3 separate regions of the Homo sapiens genome follow, and regions 2 and 3 are each linked to region 1. Evidence: promoter capture Hi-C in 16 types of primary human blood cells and fetal thymus (Javierre and others, 2016). All regions are on one chromosome and are shown on one strand. Each heading gives the region's core, a stretch centred on a gene start or on the middle of the fragment in contact. The rest is flanking DNA. Distances are from core to core; before and after follow the strand shown. Region 1 holds the start of CAHM (colon adenocarcinoma hypermethylated). Region 2 overlaps PHF10 (PHD finger protein 10). Region 3 holds the start of TFB1M (transcription factor B1, mitochondrial).

Region 1 (3,045 bases), core at 13-2,512:
TTCCATTTCCCCGACCATATTCCAGGCTCCGCAGCTCACTCCGCCCGCCGCCGCCGCCGCCGCCGCCGGAGAGGAGGGAGGGGCGGGGGCGAGCCCCGGCCGCGGGCCGCTCGGGACCCGGCGTCCCGCTCCGCGCCGGCTCCCGCTCTGGCTCCCGCGCCGAGCCCCGGGGCGGCCGGCACCGCGCGCTCGCCCGCCCCCCGCAGGCACTTTCCGCCCGGGCCCGACGCGCTCCCAGCCGCCGCCGCTCTCGGCCGCCCGGCTCGGCGCGTCCCTCACGAGGCCGGCGGGCGGGCGGGAGGCGGGTCTCGGCTGGCCGAGTGCGGGCGCGGGGCGCGGGCTGCTGGCGCCGGACGAGGAGGAGCCGGGGCCGCCGCTCGCTCGGCTGGTCGAGCCCGCTCAGCGCCGCCGCCGCCTGTGCCGCGGGCTCGGGGGGTCTCTCTGGGCTGGTCCCCGCCGCGGCGCCTCTGCCGCTGCCGCCGCGCTCCGACTGCGCTCCTCCTCTTCCTCCTCCTCCTTCTCCTCCTCCTCCTCCTCACTCACTTGGCGGCGGAGTTCGCCTCAGTTCAGGCGGCGCTGCCAGCGGCGGCGGCAGCAGCGGCGGCGGCGGGGGGAGGGGCAGCGGCGCGGGGAGGGCCGGGGGCGGGCGGCGGGCGGGGCCGCGCAGGGCGGCCGTTAGCGGGTCCCGGCCGGCGCGCTCCCGCTGCCTGCTGCCCGCCGCCCCGCGACCGGGGCAGCCGCCGGCGCCGCGCCCCCTCCTCCCTGCCTCCCCGGCGGGGCGGGCGACGGGGGCAACGGGAGTGTGACGGACTGCGGCGCTCGGCGGGCCTGGGCGCAAGGACTGGGTCGCCGCCGTGCGGGGCGCCCGGGGCGGGTGGGTGTGGGCTGCGGGGCCGACGGCCGCGGGGGGGGCGCGGGGCTTTCCACGGCACGGGGCGGGTGGGGCTGCGGGCGCGGTCGGGGCTGGCGCGGCAGGCGAGAGGAATTCCAGCGGGACGCGCCAGCGCTGCCTCCGCCTCGCCTCCCGTTACTATAGTTTTTTCAGAACCTCTTATCCACCCCGCAGAAGAGAAATTTTTTTTTAACGTCCTGTTGCTTCACGGGGGACTTTCGGGGTGGGCATCACGTGGCCCGACACGTAGCCGTGGGGCTCCAGAGCGCGTGCGCGCGTCGAGCCCGGTCGCCACGCCCCTTCCGAGGGTCGCTCCGCCCCCGTCGGGCCCCGCGAGCGCGCGGTGGGGGAGGGGAGGGCCCCGGAGCGCGCCTGCGTGGGGCGGGGGCGGCAGCCGACTAGGGGCTGGGTCTGGCCGTTTAGGGCCGGGTCTTGGCCCGTCGCCCACGGTGCGGAGGGCTGGTGGGCTTTCCTTGGCCGTCGGGCCCGCCACGGCGCGGGTCTTGGCTGCGGGGCGGAGGTGGGGCGGGAGAGCCGAGGATAAGAGTTTGAGGCTTTTCGAGGCGCGTGCCGCGGCGTCCGCCTCTGCGGGACTCTGCGCCGGGCGCCCTCGGCCGGCGCGCCCGGCTCCCGCTTTGTCGCCGAGGGAAGCACGCGCGACGCCCCTCCCGTCGCCGCCGTGGCTTCTTTCGGTGTTCGTGATTTGCTGAGAGGCTGGAAAGCAGCACGGCGGAGAGGAGCCTTGCACTCGCCAGGCGGGAAGCCTGCGCGGACACGCGTGCGCACCCACGGGGCGGCGGGCGGGCGTGGGGGGTCCGGGCCACGCGGGCGACGCGCCTCTAGGGAAGCGATCTTGTTGCACCTTCCCGTTATTCTGAAAGCAAATCGTAGCCAGACCCGAGCGCAGCGGCTTAGCAAATAATAAGGGGAGCGTCAGTCGTGCTCGAAATGCTTCCTTCGCGATGGCGTCAGTGTTCCGTGAGGGAATGAAGCCGCAGTAGGAAATAAAGAGGCTGTGCGCGTAGTCTGAAAAGCAGAAGTCAACATTTTTACAGATGAAGAAAGAATACGGAGGCAAGAGGTCTTTCTCTGCAGTTTGGTGGATTTCCAACATTTAGACTTGTTTGGAAGAATTTCCTCAGCTGCACCAATGAAGTCCTTGATCTATAGAAGTCGGCAGTCCCTAAATCTACGTCTGCATTTTGTTGCAAATCCTTTATAACATTCCATTAAAATAATGCAGAGTTATTTAATATCCAGTTGGCCATCGTGAGAGTAATTCGCGGCTGAGATTTTGTTAATCATTCTGTCTTCTGACTTAACAGTGAACGTAGGTGATTTTTTTTGTAAAATGTTGCTTCACATGAATTGTGAGAATCACCTCTAAGTTTGAATTGTACTGAAGGCACTATAAGAATTTCAAATGAACGCTGAGTAGCCAGTAGCCTTCTGGCCTTTTCGTTTAACAAGCACAGAGTTCGTTTTTAAAATTAAGTTACTTTGACAGAGGAAATGTAATAGCCTTGGTAGACAACATTAAAAATGTAACTGTCAGATGTTTTAAAGTCTCCAACAGCCGTATCTGTTTTAGAGCCATAGAATATTTACTTACTGAATTGCCTGTTTAAAGATGAACTTTCTAAATGCAGGGAATAGTAACTTGCAAAAAAGCTATGGTCTCTAAGTAATGAAGGCTGTTTCAGTACCTAGAAAAATCAAAATCAAGGTTTTGATGCTGCTAGTGTAAAAGATGCAATCCCCTTCTTAATGGCCTGCTTATTTATTAAGCTCCTAGGCACTATGCTGAATGCCCTACATGCATATCTCGTTTAATCATCAGTACAACTTGGGCTTAGGTTAGACTGTTATCCCCATTTTACAAATAAGGGGAAACCCAAGAAAGATGAAGTTAAGTAACTTGCCCAAGAATATAGCTAGTGAGTCCTGTGTCTGGGATTATAATCCAATTATATTTTATTCTAAAGCTTTTTTTTTTTTTTTTGCTTTTTTTCCTTGCCCTATCCTTTAAATCAGGTTGAATTTTATGACAATATTCCACCATTTTTGACCCATAGAAATGGCAGTGTCATAAGGCTCAACCACTTAAACCAGATTAAAGAACAATGATAGGCAATTTTCATTTCCTATGTATT
Region 2 (3,132 bases), core at 131-2,630, 6.3 Mb before region 1:
CCGGGGCGTGGGCCCAGTCCCACCGGCGGCCGCCCAGCGTCTCGGGGGCGTGGGCCCAGGCCGGGCGCCGCGCCTGAGACCGGGGGTGGTCGGCGAGGCGGGGCCCCGAGGTGAGCCCGCGGCCTCTAGCGAGCAACAAGTGCGGGCGGGCGGGGGACGCGGCGCGGCTTCCCCGAAGTTGGCAGCCGGCCCTGCTTGACAAGCTTGTCCCCAAAACGCCTCCTCCTAGGCCAGCCGTGGGACGGAACGCGCCCGGGGCCGAGAGAGTTGGCCTCGGAGGGGCCTGCAGAAGCGCGCGTTCGCTCAGCGTTCATTCCGCGCATAGTTTGCCGAAGTGTTTGAACGCTTACTGCAAAAACCGAGTGGCGAACGATATGGAAAATCAACACACTCAGTGAACTTACTGTAATAACTAAGTTAATACGCAAGCGTCCGGATGTTTTCAGCGGAAGTCTGTTAAAACTTTTTACTGCTTGAGGAGGTGAAAAGAAATTGGTGCTTGTGGAGAAAATGGAGATGAGCAGTAGTGTCACGCATCAAAACGTTTTGGTTCTAAAGTTAGGCTAGCAGTTTGTGACAGAAAGTTGGAAGGGAGGAATGATGTTTTAAAAGCCTGGAAGCTTGAAATTGGATTGAAATTAGAAGGCGGTGGGAACTGGAATGCTGCAGAGCCAGCCAGCCTTCGTGCGGTGCGCGGTGTGCCGTGTGCGCGTTGGCAGGGGAAGCCGTCCTGTAGCAGCCTAGCCGGGCTGCGCCTGCTTGGGAGCTTTTCCCGTTGCGCACGTCCACCGTGCTGTGAGACTCATTTTGAAGGTTCCTCAAAGGCTGTCGTCAATGGAAGTAACTAGATTGTAAGACTCTGAATGCACATCCTTGCACTTCCAGCATTTGACGTCTGGCCCGGCACCTGGAGGGCACTGAGCCAGTGCCCCCTGAGTGCATTCTTGACCCCTGAGCCCTAGGAAGGATGTGATGCATAGAAATTCATCTGATCTGTAGTTGGAAACCACCTGTAACTCTGGAAGGCACATCTCTGATTTAGTATGTTTGGGAGTCTTTGAAAACATGGGCCTCTGTATCAGTATTGCGGTTACACGGAAATTCTTACCTTATTCCGTCATGTATTGGGAACAATATTGCTGTTACTACCTCCCTCAAGAAAAAGGCCCGCTGCCCAGATGCTCACTTTATATAATAATGCCTTTGCCTAGAATTTGTAGTAGTAATTTAAAACACTTGATGAAATTGTAGTCTCAGCTTTTTTGAGCACTTTGCATTTTTAACTTTATTTTTGTATATTTTTGAGTGTCTCAACTTTTTAGCTAAAGGAAAATGTTTTTAAGTTTAAGGATATAAAAATCCTTAAAATGCTCACCAGTAAAATAGAAAAAATACTGGAATGTTTAAAATGAGTTATGTTGAAAGTATTGAATATGCAGTGTTGCAGTTGTATGCAGATACTTATGCAAATTTTCAGAGAGTAGATTTAGACTATGCAAAGCTCTTTAATGAAATGCTTATTTTATAAGGACTGAAAAAGAATATATATTTTACTATTTGGAAAAGAACCAGTTAATTCCTAGGAGCTAGAGACATTTGAGACTTTATTATCATCATAATCATCATTTTAACTAATATTTATCAGATAACTCGCCAGTCCTTGTTCTAAGTACTTTTAATATAGTAGCTCGTTTAATCATTGAATTAGCCATGTAATGGGGCACTATTATAGTCTCAAATTTTCGGATAAGGAGATGCTCACAGAGAATAACCTACTCAGCTAGTGAGGGACAGTGCCCAGTGAGAACCCAGGCCGTCCAGCTCTGGCATGCCTGGCCACTATACCATATTGCCTCTTTATATTCTTTTGCAGGATTGCTTTCATTTTAATATGTAGCAAGAGGACTATAGTATTTAGCAAAATTGGATTAGCGTTGAAAGCTATATTACATTAAAAAATTATGATTTTTAGACTTTAAGCCTTGGCTAATAAGTAAATAAATCAATTTCCTAACATCTGATACTTTTTCTGAATGAAATGGTTGAATTTATAACCTTGATGTTCTTGCCACATAATGGATTACATTAAAAATATATAATCTTCTTTAAAAAAAAAATTCCCCTCCCCCTCTCAAGCTTCTTTTTTTGGTGTGTGTGCTGCTATATTATAGATTGATGACCCTTATTAGGGTATATTTTTGCTAAATTTTAGCAGTGTAAGAGGAAGAGTGAATAGTTAGAATTGTTTTCGGTCTCATATGTCCCCTTTTCACAGGGACATAAATGCCTAAAGTAGTCAATTAAAATAGTCCTATGAACCGGCTTCAAGTTGAATTGAGAACTGTAAATGATCCATACATTTTTTTCCCCCTGAGCTTGGGTAGGAGAGTTTGCTTTAATCCTAGAGTGATGCAGCAGTTTGATATGTTTATGAAGAGCAGAAACCAAAGCAGATTTGCATTTACGGGTTCATTGAAAATGTTCTTATTTGGATTGGATTGAAGATCAGTTTTAAATTTTATTCCAGGTCTTGCTCATGCCAAACTCTTGGACCCTTTTAATTATAATATGAAGTTAATACTTGTATGACTAGTTGTCCTTAGACAGTCTTTCATTTATTGAGACTTACTGTTCTTTTATTCTTTCTCTAATTATTATTTTTGAATCTTTTAAATGTATAGGATGATAATGAAGATAATTCAAATGATGGGACCCAGCCATCCAAAAGGAGGCGAATGGGCTCAGGAGATAGTTCTAGGAGTTGTGAAACTTCAAGTCAAGATCTTGGGTACTGTCATTTTATCGGTTATTAATATTTTTTGTGATGTTCCTCTTTGCCTTAACATCCTCTTCCCTTTCCCCCAGCTCTGGCAAAGGCAATTATTAAAAATTGTAGAATATTTTCTTCCTGTTCTATAATGTGCCATCAAAGTTGGTCTTGCTACTGAGTGTAATTAAAAAGCAATTTTATGATAGTAAAATACATACATACATAAAATTAATCATTTTAACAATTTTTAAGTGTGAAATTCATTGGCATCAGTTACATTCACAGTGTTGTGCAGCCATTACCACCATCCATTTCCAAAACTTTCACTACCCCAAACTTTATAACCATTAAGCAATAACCTC
Region 3 (3,171 bases), core at 134-2,633, 8.1 Mb after region 1:
GATACTTGAGTGTGGCCAGTGAGATCAGAACTCAGAAAAAACACAACTCAGGTTGTCTTCTCTCTGTACTTTGCTGTCTGACTCTGGGCATTGTCAAATGACCTCACCTCCCCTATTTCTTCACAGCAAACTAAGAATAATAATCTCATTCACATGGGACCATTGTGAGGAGTACGGGAAATAATGAATATAACTGTGAAATAATGCTTTGTCAGGTATACTGTGTTTTGGACGATAAGATATCTGAATCAAGAGTTTGTACTTCCAGTCTACATTTTGATGCCACGTTGGGCAAATCTCCTTACCTCTATGGTAGTCATCACTATTTTTTAAAGCTAGGAGATTATCTCAGTTCCTTTTAAAACAGCTTTTATAGAAGGTGGTTGAGTTTTCCACTGGAATTTCAAAGTACTCCTCATTTTTATATCCATACCCATAGTTGTTTCGTTTTCCATTAGCTTTTTTAAAAACTTACTAATTGAGGAACAGAAACTTTAAAATTCATTTGTGATCAACGCAGCAATGTCCAAACATAAGCAGGGTTAAAACAGCAAAATTCTCCCACCTATCAGAGAAACTTTAATTTTTTTTTTTTTTTGCTTCGTTGTTTTTATCTCGTATAACGGAAAGACAGAACTCATATTTCAGTCTTCTCTCTGTTCTTAGCTGTAATCCTAGCAAATCGAATGACCTCTTTACACTGGCCAATTATTCATCTGCCAAATAATAACAGCCACCACTGATCACGTGGGAGCTTACCCAATGCCATGCGTGCACTATGTTCTGAACGTGCACACCAGGCGATCTCTCTCATTTAGTGCTCACAATTTTGAGGTAGACATTAGCTCCATTTAACTGATGAAAAAACTGAGGCTGAACGAAGTTAAAAACCCATCATGCAGCATCTGCAGAGCGGCGGTTCTAAAAACGCCTCACAGTAAGAAAGAATTGCTAACAAACAGTAGCTTTGCCTCTAAGCACCCGCTTTTCCTCTAATATTCACAGACAGGTATTTAGAACGTTAAAGAGCCGGAAGCCCTTGGGAACTTCAGGGCGGGAGTAAACCGGCTGCACCTCTCAGAGCAACTCCTCCGAAAAACCCCACCCTGTCCAGGCCCCGCCTCGTCCCGCCCTCCTGGGCGCTCTCCCCATAGCCCGCCCAGGAGAAGCCTAGTCCACCCGGCTCTCCCCCGGCTCTCACAGGCGGAAGCCGCCGACCACCCAGCCTGCCCTTCTCGCGGCAGGACTTAGCGCATGCGCTCTCAGCACGCCGGGAATTTCCTGTCCGCGGTCATCGCTTCCGGTGGGATAGGTCTGACCAATGGGGCTGACTCCGAGGCGGGCCTTAGGTCTCGCAGGTTCCTCCCCTGCGCGTTTCTTTCGGAGCGGCGGTGAAGGTCCTGGGTGAGGTAGGGTTGGATGGTGCTTGCCGCGTATCATGGCTGCCTCCGGAAAACTCAGCACTTGCCGTCTCCCTCCGTTGCCCACGATTCGAGAAATCATTAAGTTGTTAAGACTGCAAGCAGCGAAGCAGCTATCACAGAATTTCCTCCTGGACTTGAGGCTGACAGGTGGATGGCTTAGCAGTGCTCCCCGGATGTCTCCCCAGTGTCCGTGGGGGCGTGGGCCGGGGGGTCTTGCACGTCCCCGCGGGCGGGTGTCCAGGCACTGGCGTGCGACGGGCTTTTGGTCAGGTCCTTCGACCTCTTTGTATCAGAACTCCGGTCCCACCGCCCAGGAGACACGTGAAGTGCGTTGATTGCTCACAAAACTCCGCGTTCGGGGGGGTGTAGCCTGCCGGCAGGCTGCATAAATGCCAAGCTCCCTAGGGGAGGAAGGGTTCATGGGTCGTGAAAGGCGCTAGTGAATATTGGAATCTGGGTCACTGTGAAATCAATCATTCTGAAATAGTACAGCACATGCTGACTGCAGTTGCTTTACATGCAGTTTAAAGTTACCAGAATTTAAATTGATGCGAGGATTTTATCAATAACTTGGTGAAAAGAGTATCCCTCGTATGATTCGTTTTTTAAACGTTTACCTGTTCAGTCTAAGCCTCGGGGGCGCTAATATTCATTCATAAGTACATATTACACAAGCAACATTGTGCTAGTGCCGGGGGTAGGATATGGGCGTGAACAAGGCGGTGTTTCCTCGAGGAGCTTACTTTTAGCAAGTTTACATTCCCACACCTAATTGTTTAAAGTTACTTTTTATGAGATATAATTTATGTGCAATAAAATTAATAAGTTTGAAGTGCTCAATTTGATGAGTTTTGACGAATGTATTTATATATTGGTTTAACCACCATCACCATTGCTTAGTGATGTTCTATGAGATGAGGTTGCAAAAATATATTACAAATACGTCTACTAAGTCACGGCTGGAGTACTTAGGTTTTGAGATTTTCATATTTCATTCTATTTAGTCCCACTTCAGAAGTTGAAAAGAGCAGTAAATCACACCCAAAAAGTTCATTTTCACTTAAATGAAGCACACTCCAGAAAACATAAAATGTTTTATTTCTTGGACATGTAGTCTTTATTCTGCCTGTACCAATATGACTTTGGATAAAATAATTTAACTCAAGTTTTCTCTTTTTTTTTTTTTTCTTTTTTTAAGATGGAGTTTCACTCTTGTTGCCCAAGCTGGAGTGCAATGGCATGATCTCAGCTCACTGCAACCTCCGCCTCCCCGGTTCAAGTGATTCTCGTGCCTCAGCCTCCCAGGTAGCTAGGATTACAGGCGTGAGCCACCGTGCCTAGCTAATTTTGTGTTTTTAGTAAAGACAGGGTTTCACTATGTTGCTCAGGCTGGTCTCAAACTCCTGATCTCAAGTGATCCACTCGCCTCGGCCTTCCAAAGTGTTGGGATTACAGGTGTGAGCCACCATGTCCAGTAGTTTCCTCATCTTTTAATTGGAAGAAGGGCCTACTACTTTAAAAGATTGCCCACTCTAAAATTCTTTGGTTCTAGTAATAGCTAGTACCAGCCTTTTCTGCTTGTTATTAGCCACATTCTAAATATAAATCACCATTCTCAGGGCAGAAGTTATAGGTCTGTGTATTTTTTAAAATCCTTCAAATACATTTTCTCATGAGCCTTTATCTTCAGGAGTAAGTTTCAAATTCTAGATATTATCCACTCTTTCTATGGGAACCAGAGTTAACG

What was found. Contacts are between HindIII fragments. The CHiCAGO score rates a contact against its expected background, and 5 or more counts as called.
Region 2: a contact is called between a fragment that was not itself captured here and the fragment with the promoter of CAHM in region 1, in 1 of 17 cell types (fetal thymus). The highest score is 5.7, in fetal thymus.
Region 3: the fragment with the promoter of TFB1M here is called in contact with the fragment with the promoter of CAHM in region 1 in 1 of 17 cell types (naive CD8 T cells); the score reaches 8.5 in naive CD8 T cells.

What each region holds. Positions count from the first base shown.
Region 1 is chr6:163,412,167-163,415,211 of GRCh38, reverse strand. It overlaps CAHM (colon adenocarcinoma hypermethylated), which reads left to right and starts at 1,262. Exons shown (of 1, transcript NR_037593.1): 1 at 1,262-2,147. It overlaps QKI (QKI, KH domain containing RNA binding), which reads right to left and starts at 494. Exons shown (of 8, transcript NM_006775.3): 1 at 1-494. The coding sequence starts at 18. It overlaps LOC124901234 (basic proline-rich protein-like), which reads right to left. Exons shown (of 4, transcript XM_047419614.1): 2 at 1,127-2,598; 3 at 544-963; 4 at 36-247. The coding sequence starts at 2,006. The coding sequence ends at 36. RefSeq lists enhancers at 1-589, 590-1,242 and silencers at 166-985, 1,076-1,855. The HindIII fragment of the contact is 4,236 bases long and covers 1-2,879 here.
Region 2 is chr6:169,720,661-169,723,792 of GRCh38, reverse strand. It overlaps PHF10 (PHD finger protein 10), which reads left to right. Exons shown (of 12, transcript NM_018288.4): 2 at 2,682-2,788. Among named protein-coding and RNA genes, the nearest start is that of PHF10, 2.3 kb to the left of the region's middle. RefSeq lists a silencer at 1-191. The HindIII fragment of the contact is 1,516 bases long and covers 623-2,138 here.
Region 3 is chr6:155,312,696-155,315,866 of GRCh38, reverse strand. It overlaps TFB1M (transcription factor B1, mitochondrial), which reads left to right and starts at 1,383. Exons shown (of 7, transcript NM_016020.4): 1 at 1,383-1,571. The coding sequence starts at 1,439. RefSeq lists enhancers at 569-618, 1,169-1,218, 300-1,290, 1,289-1,608 and a silencer at 1,039-1,118. The HindIII fragment of the contact is 4,007 bases long and covers 1-3,171 here.